Linked DNA regions of Homo sapiens: region 2 is linked to region 1. The links are contacts of gene promoters, found by promoter capture Hi-C in human tissues and cell types (Jung and others, 2019). All regions are on one chromosome and are shown on one strand. The core of a region is centred on a gene start or on the middle of the fragment in contact, and the rest is flanking DNA. Distances in the headings are between cores, read along the strand shown. Region 1 holds the start of CNFN (cornifelin). Region 2 overlaps ARHGEF1 (Rho guanine nucleotide exchange factor 1).

Region 1 (6,761 bases), core at 2,016-4,515:
GATCACACCATTGCACTCCAGCCTGGGCAACAGGAGTGAAACTCCATCTCAAAAAAAAAAAAAAACACGAATTTGAACCCAGGCTTTCTGGCTCCAGAGTCCATCACATAAGGCTGCCATTCAATAAATAATTGCTGCCTTAATCCAACCGGAATTACAGAATCACAGTAACTGCAAACACACCCAAACAGCAGTGCACAGTGTGTAGACTCACAGGAGGGCAATACAGACACACAAATAGAAGAGACCCTCTCATATCACACCGCAGACCACAGAAAAAGCACAGAGACACATCATGACAGTTGGGGGTTGTCATGACAATTGGTCACAACCACACACAGAGACACAATACACCCAAACACAGGGGCACACCCAGAGCTCCCCAAGTCCCTCCTGTTCTGCTCCCAGCCCCGCTGGGCTGGCCTTCAAGGAAACAGCAGGTTGAGGAAGGGAAGGGGGACCACGCCACTTGTCCGCTCTGCCGGACCGGTTCCACCAGGGCCACAGATGGCACAACCCACCTTGTGAAACCCAAAGTGATGACTGACCCACATTGGGCAACTGGACTGAGACCTGGTCTGGATGCCTGGGTTCTGGGGAGAAAGGGGCTGGGAGCCTGGACTCCTGTATTTCCAAAGGAGGAGGGGGTTGGGTGCCCCATTCCTTCTAAGGGGGAGGAGGAGGATTAGGACCTGGACTCGCAGATCCTAAGGAGGGAAGGCTGGGGCCTGGACTCCTAGGTTCTGGGAAAAGAGGGGGCTGGAGTCCTGAACTCCTCTGTCTTTGATGGTAGGGTTCCAGATTTAGCAAATAAAACTATAGGAAGCCCAATTTAATTTGAATTTTAGATAAATAACAAATACTTTTTTAGTATAAATATGTCCCAAATACTGCATGAAACATGCTAAAAAACCTGTTTGTTGCTTATCTGAATTTCAGATTTTACAGGACAGCCTGTATTTTATGTGGCAACCCTGTTTGAGGAGGATGTAGGCCAATGCCTGGTGACTGGGCCACCATCACTCCTCAGCCCCCCAGGAGCTCCTCCTCCTGCTCACGGCCCTCCTCACCCCCAAGCAGGCCACCTCACAGCTTCCCCAGTCTCTATTTCCTCACCTGCATGAATTGCTAGATCTAATTGGGGCCCCCAGGCTGTGTCAGGAGTGAGAGAGGAAACTTGAGGACAACTCAGAGTGTCATGCTGGGAGCCCTGGGGTCCTCGGAGATGACTGACCTTGAGTCACCTGCACCCTTAGTCTGGACAGCAGGGGGGATGGGGCCCTGTAGCTGCCTCCACAGGGCAGGTCTGGAGATGAACAGAGATGGGAAGCGAGATTCAGAAGAGATTTTGACATAGGAGACAGAGACCCCGGGATAAGGGCACAGAGACACAGAGCCTGGAAGGAGAGGGACCCAGAGATGGAGAGACAGAGATTTGGAAAGAGATTTGCAGAGATGAGGAAAGAAAGACAGATTCACAGCTGGAAAGGTGAAGATGCAGGGTGAGAGACGAAGATTCAGAGATGAGGAGACAGGGATGTTAGGACACAAGTGAGGAGATGTCCCCCAGACATCCAGGCTCTAGGACCAATGACGGACGTGCACCGGCAAGACAGTGAGCGCTGCCGGGAGTTCTGGGGACAGGAAGACCCAACCATCTGGGTGGTGCTGGGAGACCAAGGCTTGGGTCCTAATGTGTTGGAGGGAGGGAGGGAGGGAGGGGACACCTGGGATCCCAGCTAGCAGGGTGATCCACCTGCCATCACCCCATACCCGGCGGGGTGATGACACCACCTTCTCTGCAGGTGACACCCCAGTTTTCTAGTGCCTCCTACATTTTTGGGGTGACACCCGTGCTGAGAACCCCACCCAGCTCTAATGCTGCTTCCCTCACTGAGTCACCTCCCAACCCCGTCAGGCCTGTTGGGGGGAAACTTTGGCGATTCAGGCACCCAGACCCCCAGCTCCTTCCCTGCTCAGGAGCCCAGCAGTGTGGAATCCCAGGACCCCTACCCTACTGAGGGATGTGCAGCCTGGCCTCATGAGACGCAGGAGTCCAGGGCCCCAGCCCCTCCTCCCTCAGACCCAGGGGTCCAAGCCCCCACTCCTTTGCTCCATTAGGACCCAGGAGTCCCAGGTGACGTCCACGTCCTTCAGGAACTGCGGCTTTTCAGTTCCCAGCCTCCTCCCTTCCCAATTTGGAGCTGGGGTGAGGTGTGTTTATTTACTTTGGTTCCAACATGAGTCATTCCCCAAAACACACTGCCCCCCATGTGTCTCCTGGCTTGAATGGGGAGGACACTGTCCCCCTCTCCCAGGAAAGTGGGGATATCACTGAGAGAGATGAGCGAGACCCTGAAAGGGGAGTCCCACACAGCACTCTCTCCCACTCCACCCGGCCTTTTTCTCTCCCCACCCATCACCTCTCCCCATTTCCCTGCCCTCTAAGCCTGTTCAGTGATCCCCCCACCTGCCTCTCCACTTTTCCATCTCCGTCTCTCTTCTGTCTCCCATCTCCCCTTTTCTTTCCTTTTTTTTTTTTAAGACAGGGTCTTGCTCTGTCACTGAGGCCGGAGTGTAGTGGCGGGAACACGGCTCACTGCAGCCTCAAACTTCTGGACTCAAGCGATCCTCCTGCCTCAGCCTCTCAAGTAGCTGGGACTACAGGCACATGCCACCATGCCCGGCTAATTCTATTTGTATTTTTTGTAGAGATGGGGTATCCCTATGTTGCCCAGGCTGGTCTTCAACTCCTGGGCTCAAGCGATCCTCTCACCTCAGGCGATTACAGGGTTGGGATTACAGGCGAGAGCCACCATGCCTGGCCCATCTCCCCTCTTCTTGTTATTTCTTTTCACATTTTTGTGCCCCTCTGTTTCTTGGCACCTCTCCATCTCTCTACATCTTCCTGCGTCTCTCCATCTCTCTGAATCTCCTCTCTCTCCTTTCTGTCTAGAGGGACTTCCCTGCCTGCCTTTCTGACACTGTGTTTCTGTCTCTCCCTCTCTTTTGGTCTCTGCGCATTGACCCGGCTGTGGCCCCCCGCCCCCGCCAAACCTCCCACCCCCCGCCACCTTCTTTTCCCTGGGTCCTGGGAGCTGAGGCAGGAGGAGAAGTGGGGGGATGGGAGTGGAGAGGGAGGGCGGGAAATCCCAGTGTGGGGAGAGGGTCGATCAGACCGGCTTGGCTCCCTGGGCACCTCTGTCAGAGCCCCGCCCAGGGCTGCGTGGCCGCCCATATAAGTGGCTCTGGGCTGAGACGGAGAAGTCAGTGCCCGTGTCTCCACACGTCTGCCTCCATCACTGCCATCGCGATCCTGCAGGTAGGAACATCCCCTCCGCAGCCCTCTTCTTTGAGGTTGGGCGCCTCTGCTCTGTTCTCCCTCCTCCTCATCCCACTCATATCACTCTGTCTCCTTTCATATCGCTGATTGTCGGTCTCTCGGGACATCTCTGTCCTTCCCAATGCCCCCAAATCTGTCCTTCTTAACTGGGGTGTGCTGAGCTGAATTTAGAAGTCTTGGGGCCCAGCATCACCTCTATGAACCCCCTTGGCCTGGGCCGTCAGACGTGGGGCGTTCCTCCTCATGTCTCTGAGCCTCAGTGCTCATCTGTGAGATGGGCTTGCAGAGGAGTCAAAGTGCTGGGCACATGTGGGCATTACTGGTGACATCTCTACGGGCACCTGGCTCTGATCTTTCTCCCCTTGTCTCTGACTCTGTCCATCTCCATTTCTTGTTCTCCCTCAAGCTCTATCTCGGGTATGGGGAGGGTCCTCTGCAATCTGTCGGGCAGTTGGAAAGACATGGGCGAGTTTCTCGCCCCCGCCCTATCCATTCCCTATTCCATGTCTCTCCTGGTTGACAGGCTGACTTGGCCTCTTTCTCCCCAGCTCCCCTCCCCCTGAGAGCCCAGCCCCCAGTGCCCCAGTCCCTTGCCCCCACCTCCCCAGTATCCAGCGTCCCTTGGACAGACTCTGCCACTGTTGCCACAGCCACTTCTGCCGTCCCCAACGCCACCTCCTCAGGGCCAGCAAGATGCAGTTTGAGATGCACGACAACGTGAAAGGCAAAGGTGGGACCGCTGGGTGGACCAGCAACCCTCTCAGTACTGGAACCTGGCCGCCTCCCTCCCCTGGGCACCCTTGCTTCGAAGACAGACGGCGCCTGCTTCCACCCCAGAGGCCCCAGAAATGCTGCAACCCAGAACCCAGGCCCAGACGTGGAGGAGGAGGCGGCACCGCCAGGCCCCACCCAGATGTGGTCCCCACCCTTCCTCAGATGTGCAGGAGACCCCCACCCCCAGCCTAACCAGACGTGCAGGAGCCAGCAGCAACAGGGACAGACTGGGGTTGCCGGTGCCCAGATGTAGCAGAAGGGAAGGGGGAGGCACAGTGGTGTCCCTTCAGTGGGCGGCCTGGCGGCCCCGCCCAGACTGCCCGGCACAGGGAAGGGTGGCCGAAGTGCGGGGCCCAGGAGATGCTGCGAGGCTGCCAGCTGACCCCTACCCTCCCACCTCTGCAGCTATGTCCTACCCTGTGACCAGTCAGCCCCAGTGCGCCACCACCAGCTGCTACCAGACCCAGCTCAGTGACTGGCACACAGGTCTCACGGACTGCTGCAACGACATGCCTGTCTGTGAGTGCCTGCCTGCTCCCTCTCCAGGCCTGGTGGAAGATGGGTTTGGGGGGAATCAGGAGAGGGAAGCTCACCTCCAACCTCCTCCCACCGCTTGCTAACCCCACTCCCACCTCCCTTCCCTGGACTTGGAATTCCCACTCTAACAGTCACCCTTTCCTCAGACCCCCAACACTCCTTAGGATACTACCTCATGCCTTCCCACACTCAACTTATCAGGCCCTCAACCTCCCCTTTGCATGCTCAGCTTTCCTCACTGTGACCCCCAACTCCCTCTTCAAACCCTAGCTCCTGGCCCAGTGCAGTGGCTCATGCCTGTAATCCCAACACTTTGGGAGGCCAAGGCATGACAATCCCTTGAGGCCAGGAATTCAAGATCAGCCTGGGCAACATAATGAGATCCCCATCTCTACAAAAATAAAAATAAAAAATAGGTCGGGCGCAGTGGCTCACGCCTGTAATCCCAGGACTTTGGGAGGCCATGGCAGGTGGACCACAAGGTCAGGAGTTCAAGACCAGTCTGGCCAAGATGGTGAAACCCCGTCTCTACTAAAAATACAAAAAAAAAAACCGGGCGTGGTGGCGGGCGCCTGTAAACTCAGCTACTCGGGAGGCTGAGAAAGAGAATTGATTGAACCCGGGAGACAGAGGTTGCAGTGAGCCGAGATCACGCCACTGCACTCCAGTCTGGGCAACAGAGCGAGATTCCGTCTCAAAAATAAAAATAAAAAATAAAATTAGCCCGAGGTGGTGGCACACACCAGTAGTCCCAGCTACTCGGGAGGCCGAGGCGGGAGGATTGCTTGAGCCCAGGAGGTCGAGGCTACAGTGAGACATGTGATCACACCACTGCACTCCAGCCTGGATGACAGACCGAGACTTTAATTTCTTTTTCTTTTTTTTTCTTTCTTTCGTTTTTTTTTTTGTTTTGTTTTTTGTTTTTTTTGAGACGGAGTATTGCTCTGTCGCCCAGGCTGGAATGCAATGGCACAGTCTATGCTCACTGCAACCTCCGCTTCCCGGGTTCAAGCGATTCTCCTGCCTCAGCCTCCCTAGTAGCTGAGATTACAGGCACACACCACCACGCCCGGCTAATTTTTGTATTTTTAGTAGAGACGGGGTTTCACTATGTTGGGTAGGCTGGTCTCAAACCCCTGACCTCGTGATCCTCCCGCCTAGGCCTCCCAAAGTGCTGGGATTACAGGCGTAAGCCACTGCACCCAGCCTCCAATTTCTAAAAAAAAAAAAAAAGAAGAAAAAAAAAAAAAGAAAAACCCTGCCTTCCAATCGCTAAGCCATCCTCTCCTCGGACCTCTAATTCCCTCTGGGACCTCTCCTTGGCTGGGACCCTCAATGCCCCTCCGCGGCGAATCAACCGCGCCCCCCCCGGGGCGGAGCCGTCGGGAGGCCCCGGCTGGCCCCGCCCCTGAGCGCCTGCGCCCCGCCCAGGTCTGTGCGGCACTTTTGCTCCTCTGTGCCTTGCCTGCCGCATCTCCGACGACTTTGGCGAGTGCTGCTGCGCGCCCTACCTGCCCGGAGGCCTGCACTCCATCCGCACCGGCATGCGGGAGCGCTACCACATCCAGGTGCGCGCCGGGCTGGGGACCCGCGGGAGCAGGGAGCTGGGGACTGGCCTCCTGGGACCCACCGCGGGGCTCCTGACCGCTCTCTCCTACCCTCTAGGGCTCCGTCGGGCACGACTGGGCGGCCCTCACCTTTTGTCTGCCCTGCGCCCTCTGCCAGATGGCGCGGGAACTGAAGATCCGAGAGTAAGGAAGTTCCCTGTCTTCCCCGTCCTTTTCCACCAGTCTCGCCTCTGGCCTTCTCTGGCCACTCCTGGGAGGGACTGCCTCACCACCCCTGTCCCGCTGCCAGAAATACACCCACAATAAAAACCTGAAAACCAACTCCGCCTACATCCATTTTGTCCCAGGGTAGGAATCTGGGTGGAGAGAGAGGATTGGTGAGAGAGGTGGGGACAAGACAGATGCCTACGTGTGACCCCGCCAGGCAGTGTGTGACTTTGTCAAGTTATCCCTCCCAAACCCCAGTTGCCCTCACCCTAACAAAGTAAAACCACTAACTCTTTAGCTGCAGACTCCCTGCCTGAAGCTGCCTGCATTCT
Region 2 (6,910 bases), core at 3,366-5,865, 490 kb after region 1:
CTGCTGGGTCCTTATGGCCGCGCCTTCCCTGAGTACCCCTGGAACTTTAACCCGTACCTCACGGGCCCCTTCCCCAAGCTGCCTCCCTCTCTCTACCCCCCGCATTTCTACCCCAACCCTCTGGCCAGTTCCCTGGGCCACCTGCCCTCGTCAGGGGCAGGGGGAGGCCCCACAGCCACGCCCCTGCTGGCCTCGACAGGGGAGGGCCTGGGCCCCGAGCGCCCCTCGGGCCTGGCAGCGGCCCCTCGCCTGGCGCTGCCAGGGGCTGGGGGTCCAGAGGCTGCCCTTGGTGGGAAGGAGGACAGCGACTCGGAGCTGGAGATCACCGACGTCAGCGGCTGCAGCTCTGACAGCGAGGGCGATGAGGGTCTCCCGGCACCCCCCAAGGCAAAGGCGGGCAAAGGGGGGACCGGCAGCTGAGCCGGCAGGGGGCAATGGATTCTGCTGAGGCAGGGACCAGGGTGGCTGCCCGTCTGCCCTTGATGCCTGGCCCAAGGCCCAGGACCAGCCCTCAGCACCTCCCAGGTCTGGGCACATTGCTGCCCCAGTCTCCTTCCCCAGCCCCAGAGTGGGGGGGGTCTCACTTCCCCCTCCACAGAGGACAGAGGGAATGTGATGGCCTCCGGCCTCCTCCCCAGGCTCCAGTTTGAGGGGGGTCCCCGCCTGGCCCCACTCCCAAAGTGCAATATGGCGCCCAGCCTGCCCCGCCCGCCCACCCCTGTGCTATGCCCCAAGTGTTTGTGTGGCCGTGTCTCCAAACCCCCTGTGCTGGCCCCAGTCCTGACACCCCCCCCATATAGGCCCCCCTGGGGACAGGGAGCTCAGAGCAATAACCCCGCCCCCAGCCCCCACCCAGGAGGGGCCCCCCTCCCCACCAGCTCCCCATGATCCCAACAGTCACCTCCAGAGAGTTTACTACAGAAATAAAAGAACAGAGAGTGAGACTCGGGGTGCCCAGTGCTGAGCATGGGGGATCGGGGGTGGGAGCTGGAGGGCGGTGTCAGGGAGACGCCTCATACCCAGTGTGTGTACGGAGTGCCTGGGGAGTAACGGTTCAAACAAAGAAATGAATGAATGAATGAATGAACAACTGGAGGGAGGCGCAGAGGCACAGACCCAGGATGTCAACGCCAGACAGTCACAGAGAGTTCCAGACGCCATGCCAGGCCCCACCCCGCCATCACACACACAGATCTCTTCTTAGATAATATATATTAAAAAATAAACCTCCAATTCAGGGTATAAAAACAGAGCGAAGGCACTTGGGGGTGGGGGTGGAGGGGTGGCCCCCACAGGCAATACTGAGATGGCCCGGGTCACCGTGGTGCCCTCCAGAATGGAGCCCTGAGTCCCCCAAGCAGAGGGCAGGAGGGAGAGATGGCCGAGGCTCATGCGGGGCCAGTAACCCCAGCTGGGCCCCTCCCAGGCGTGGCCCACAGCTCCCTCTCCTCAGGCCCTCGGGGTGTGAGATGCTGCGGCAGCTGTGTGGGTGGGGGTGGTCCCTCACGTCCTCTCCCCCATTCCTCTCCTTCTTGCAAAAGGCCTGGGGGATGTAGGAGAAGAGGGGAGACGGGGAGAGATGGAGAGAGAGACAGGGAGAGACAGACACAGAGACAAGACAGGGAGAGCAGAGAGAGAAGGGGAGGTGGGGAGAGGCAGGCGGGCACAGAGACAGAGAAACAGATTATCAGAAACAGAGACACAGAGATGAGAAACACGAGGTGGAGTGGGGAGATTCAGAAAAGACAAAGAGGGAGATGGACAGAAGGGGCTGTAGGGATGCGAGCTCTGGAGGGGGACCCTCCTTTCAGGACAGCGCCCTGGCCCCCAGGTGCCCCACTCACCTTCCTGGGCGGGAACCTCAAGTGCAGCCAGGCTGGGGGACAGAGTTCCCCCCAAGCTGAGACAGGAGGGGTCTCAGGCGGCAAAATTCCTCCTCCAACTCCTGGTGGGGTGGGGGTCATGGATGAGGGGGGCCCCTTCCTTCCCCAGCCCACTCAGGGCACCCCTGGCCCGTCCCGCCCCACCTCCAGCTGCTTCATGGTCTCCTCCAAGCTGAGCAGGTTCTCCTGGATTTCCTGGGTCCGTGCTGGGCTCAGGGGGCCGCCCCCTGGGACCCCATCCCCATCTCGAGGAGGCCCCGCCCCATTGTCTTCCTCCGCCGGAAACAGAAGCTGCTTCAGGGACAGCACTGGCCAGGGGCAAGGAGGGGTGGAGTCAGGAGACCAGGGGGCTGGGCTGGGATCTGGGATGGGGGATTCCAAAGGGGATGTGTAGGGGCTGGAGGTGAAGGTGGGTGCCAGGCAAGGCTGAGCAGATGGGGTTCGGGGATCCAAAGGGAGGTGAAGAAGTGAGGCTGGGTTTAGGGTTGGGACAGGGCAGGAAGGTACTGAAGACAGAGATGTGTTCAGGAAGAGGCTAAATATAGAATCAAGCAAGGGATGGTGGCTGCAGAAGAGGGACGTGGGCACCCAGGACAGTGGTGCAGGCTGGGTGGGTTTGGAGCATTTGTTTTCTGGCAGCTGGGCGTAAGGAAATTTTTGACGTGGAGAGCCTTGTTCTAGTTGGAACAGAGGCACTGTTTGGGCTGGTGGCCACCCTGGAGGGGCAGAGCTGGGCTACCTTTCCGAAGGGCCGTGGCAGCGAGCTGGCCCTCGGGGCCTGGTCTGCAGAAGGGCAGGAGGTCACTGAGGATTCTCTCGGTCCGGGCTGGATTGGGGAACAGAGAGGGAGCTCAGATCCTGCCGGGCCTCCTGTGGATGCCTCTCTTCACCCGGCAGCCCCAACCTGGCCCCTCACCCAGCATCCCTCTGGTCTCACCATCAGCTGGAGACGTCTCTCGGCCACCATTGCCGTTCTCAGAGCTGCTGAGGAGGGGTTCTCGGGTGCTGAGGGGAGGAAGTGCTGGGTGACCCCACACCCCTGGCCCTGGGGGGCCGCAGGGGCAGGGAGACAGAGAGCTGGAGGTGGGGAGGCAGGGAGGTCCGGAGACAGAGACAGAGGTCGAGGCCGGGAGACAGGGAGACAGAGAGGCCCAGACAATGGAAGACACAGAGGCCTGGAGACAGGAGACAGACGGGGCAGTGGTGGGGTCGGCACATGCGCACACACACACACATGCATGCACATGCTGTCACACGCATGCACACATATGCATACACACACACCATACACGCACACACATGCACACGCACACATGCATGCATACACACACTATATATGCACGCACAGTCACATACTTGCGTACAGACACACATGTATGCACACACATGCATTCACACATGTGCATGCTCACACAGAGACGGTTCTGGAGTTGTGGAGGGAAGCCTGCCCCGCCTTCCGGCCCCACTCCCTGAACCTCCAGCTCTCTCCATGGCCCCCCTCACCTGCTCGGGCTGGGCCGGGGCTTAGGGCGAGAGGCAGGGGCAGGGACTTTCAGGGATCCGGCAGTCTCAGTGATGAGAGCACACCAGCTGGGGAGAAAGGCCAAATCCCTGGGCAGTCAGAGCCCCCAGACCCTATGCCAGGGCCTCCCCACAGCCCTCCTGTCCCTGGGAACCCAGAAACCTGGGCGTCCTCCACCCACACTCAGAACTCAGACCCCCCCTCACTTTTTCCGCTCCGACACAGTCTGTGCCACCAGCTCGTATATCTGGGCCTCCTGGTCCCAGGTAAAAAGGACGTAGAAGGCTTTGTGATCTGCAGGGAGAGGGGGAGATGGGGCTCAGAGCCCAGGTCCCCCCAGTGCCTGCCCCTCCCTAAGCACAAGCTGGAGAAGTCACCCACAGTGGTGGCGCTCTCAGGGCTCCCATGGCTCAACTCACCACTCACTGTCTGCTAATATCCAGGGCCCGATGTGTCCTCCTGAGCCCCACCTCTCACACCTCCTTATGGAATCGGGCATGTACCCTGGCTTACCTAACGAAACCCCTCCAGCCACTCCCACCCTCCAGCCGCTTCCAGTGTTTGTGGCCCTGGTGCAACTTCCTAGTAGTATGTTTACAAATCCCTCCTCACTGGACTCCTGGCCTTTCTTCTCCTTGTTTACACAAGACACGCCTCTGTGCAAACACCTGCAGCAGTTCCTACCTCACTTATAAACCCTCTAGGCCTGGCCCCGCCCTGCCCACCTCCACCTACTTCTCAACCTCTTTGCTAGAATGCTGGCTCCCTGGCTCTCTAGAGGGTTCTGCTCCCCACTCCACAGGCAGCTCTGCCCAAAAAAGACACCCTCTGCCCTGGGCCATGCAGTGGCTGCACTCACCGGTGGCCACCTCGCGGGTCATGGCGGAGGTGAGCCGCAGCACGGGCCGCAGCATGGTCTTGCCATCGGGCGTGGGCGTCAGTGTCCGGCTATGGGACTTGAGCAGCAGCCGCTCGTCCTGGCGCTGGAGCAGCAGCAGCAGGTCGTCCAGCAGCAGCACATGCACCTCTACGGGGCGAGCAGTGCTCACACGGCGTGCCCCCGCGCGACCCCCTCCCCGCCCTTGGCTCACTGCCCCAACACCCTGCACTAGGCAGCTGCTCTGGCACTCACCCACTGCCTTGTCCTTAGTCACCCGCCACGTCAGTGGGCCCTCGTGGACCAATTTCTTCTTGGTGATGTCCAGGTTCTGGGGCAGGAGGGGGTGATGGTTTGTGCAGGTTGGCAGGGGGTGATTGGGGTTGGTGGGGAGGGGAAGGGCAGGGCAGTGGCCGGGGATGACCACAGGCTGGGGATCATGGGATTGGCATGAGGTGGGGGACAGAGCTCTCGCTTCCTGGGTGTATTATGGGATGGGCAGGACAGGCTGGGGGCTGTATCACAGAATCCCCTGGGCCAAGGAGTAGGGGGGCGGGGGAGGCAGGAGGGTATGGTCACACCTTGAACTCGCTCAGCATAGGGTCGCTGCTCTGCCGAAGGTGGGACAAGTCCAGGCGCCGCTGATAGTCCTTGAGCCTCTGGGGCAGAGACGGGAGCATTATGGGGACAAGCTAAGTGCTGGGGCTGACCTGCAGTGACCCACATTGGTAAGATGAGAGCCAAGACCAACTTCTGATGCGGGCAAGCTGAGGGTTGGGCCTGACCTCCAATGACCCTGAGAGGGAGATGCTGAGGGCCAAGCCAACCCCTGGACACAGTGACCCTTGAGGGAGACAAGCCAAGGGGTGGGGTGTGACTTCTGGACAGGCTGAGGTAGGGTCCACCCCCTGCTCTCACACCATCCACTGTCCCGGGTGTGGGGCCAGCCCAGGCTCACCAGCAGGTCCTCCATGTCACGCACGGCTTGGTTGACGTGGTGTAGAATTTCCCGGCAGCACTCGGCTGCCAGCTCCACTTTCTCCCGTTCTGTGGGCTCTTCTGCAGGCAAGGGAGAGAGCAGCTCTGGTGAACCCCTGCCCTGGAGGCTCCAGATTGGGCAGCCAAGGTTAGACAAAGGACAGCTGGCCGGGCATGGTGGCTCACGCCTGTAATCCAAGCACTTTGGGAGGCTGAGGCGGGAGGATAGCTTGAGACCAGGAGTTCAAAGCCAGCCTGGGCAACATGGCGAGACCCCGTCTCTAAAAAAAAAAACTAAAAAAATTAGCTGGGCATGGTGGTGTGCCCTTGGGGTCCCAGCTACTTGGGGAGCTGAGGTGGGAGGATGGTAGATCCTGGGAGGTTGAGGCTGCAGTGAGCTGTGATGGTATCACTGATGAAAATGAGTGAGAAAAAAAATGTAAAAAAAAAAGAGGAGAGCCGAGGCCCAGAGATCCAGGCCCGCGGTACCTGTGTTCTGCCCGATGCTCTGCAGGAGCAGGGGGTACTTGGTCAGCCGCTGCATCTCCGTGGGGATCATGTCCTTCAGCTGCAGGCGGCGGCACCGCGGGCGGCTCTCAGCTTCCTGCGGGAAACATGCTGGTGTTGCGATGGCCCAGGCTTTGGGCTCACCCCAGGGCGCAGGCACCTAGGAGTCTGGGTCTCCAGGCCCCTCCTCCCTGGGAAGCTGGAGTCCAGACCCCACCTCACCTGCACGAAGGCACAGAACCGAGGGTCCTTGCGTTGCTTGGCTTTGAGCTGCTCTAAGGCAAATGACTGGCGGCTGCAGAAGCGGGAGGAGATTTTCTGGAACCAGGAGCCCTCAGCACCATCAAACTACAGCGAGATTCAGGCCAGGCAGGTGTCTCAGTGGGGATGGGCAAGAACAGGGACTAAAGTACGACAGGCTGGAAGCCCAGACCCTGGGACTGGAGTAGGGTGGGCTCAGGACCCGTCCCGGGCCTGAATTCCATGTGTCTAGCTGGGAGGAGCGGGAGGGCTGGGCATCTCACCCGGGCCAGCAGCACGTCTCCGATCTCCTCGATGAGGTAGCCACTCTCCTGCCTCCGCTTCATCAGGCGATCGAGGAACAGGGCTGTGGGGGCAGGAGGAAAGGGATGCTCCACCAGGGTCTGGAAGATGCTGTGCGGGGCCTGCTGCGGTGTGGTGGGGGTAGGGCTGCAGGTGTGTCTGTGTCTGATCCTCGGGACCGGATGGCGTATCTGCCCCCACCCCATGTGAACCCTGGGGTTCCCGAGCAGGTTGAACCCAGGGCTAGAGCAGAGCTGCCCGTGGGGCAGTGGGGTACACAGAGGGACCCTGGCTCTGCACTCACAATGCACCTCGATGAGCTCGTCCAGGCTGGGGAAGATGTTCTGCAGCTCCTCCAAGGGGAAGAACAGGCATTCTGCCATGGGCTGGAAGAAGAGGTCGTGCAGCACCCGCAGCATGCGCACGTGGGCCGCCTCTGTCACCAGCAGCTCTGCAGGGCCACCAAAGCAGGAAGCATGTTGGGGAGGGTGCAGACTAGGGGGCATGACCTCATGGGCAGGCTAGAGGAATGAGGCAGAGCAGGGAGGAAAGCTTCCTAGAAGTTGGTGGGAAAAAACTCTCTCTGGCTAGCCATGGTGG

Evidence for each region. The method cuts DNA at HindIII sites, captures the fragments that hold promoters and counts their contacts. A contact is called where the count stands out against the background at its distance.
Region 2: a contact is called between a fragment that was not itself captured here and the fragment with the promoter of CNFN in region 1, in 4 of the 25 tissues and cell types used here (bladder, dorsolateral prefrontal cortex, liver and 1 more).

The regions. Positions count from the first base shown.
Region 1 is chr19:42,386,801-42,393,561 of GRCh38, reverse strand. It overlaps CNFN (cornifelin), which reads left to right and starts at 3,265. Exons shown (of 4, transcript NM_032488.4): 1 at 3,265-3,322; 2 at 4,523-4,636; 3 at 6,086-6,222; 4 at 6,320-6,543. The coding sequence starts at 4,525. The coding sequence ends at 6,409. RefSeq lists silencers at 5,978-6,157, 6,178-6,357. The HindIII fragment of the contact is 13,351 bases long and covers 1-6,761 here.
Region 2 is chr19:41,901,738-41,908,647 of GRCh38, reverse strand. ARHGEF1 (Rho guanine nucleotide exchange factor 1) reads right to left here. Exons shown (of 29, transcript NM_004706.4): 15 at 6,615-6,761; 16 at 6,292-6,374; 17 at 5,990-6,115; 18 at 5,750-5,864; 19 at 5,241-5,341; 20 at 4,864-4,941; 21 at 4,538-4,613; 22 at 4,265-4,432; 23 at 3,612-3,699; 24 at 3,387-3,473; 25 at 2,821-2,888; 26 at 2,623-2,709; 27 at 2,028-2,191; 28 at 1,845-1,945; 1 more. The coding sequence ends at 1,862. It overlaps ERFL (ETS repressor factor like), which reads left to right. Exons shown (of 6, transcript NM_001365103.2): 6 at 1-944. The coding sequence ends at 420. Among named protein-coding and RNA genes, the nearest start is that of ARHGEF1, 22 kb to the right of the region's middle. RefSeq lists enhancers at 2,465-3,069, 3,675-4,279, 4,280-4,885. The HindIII fragment of the contact is 9,702 bases long and covers 1-6,910 here.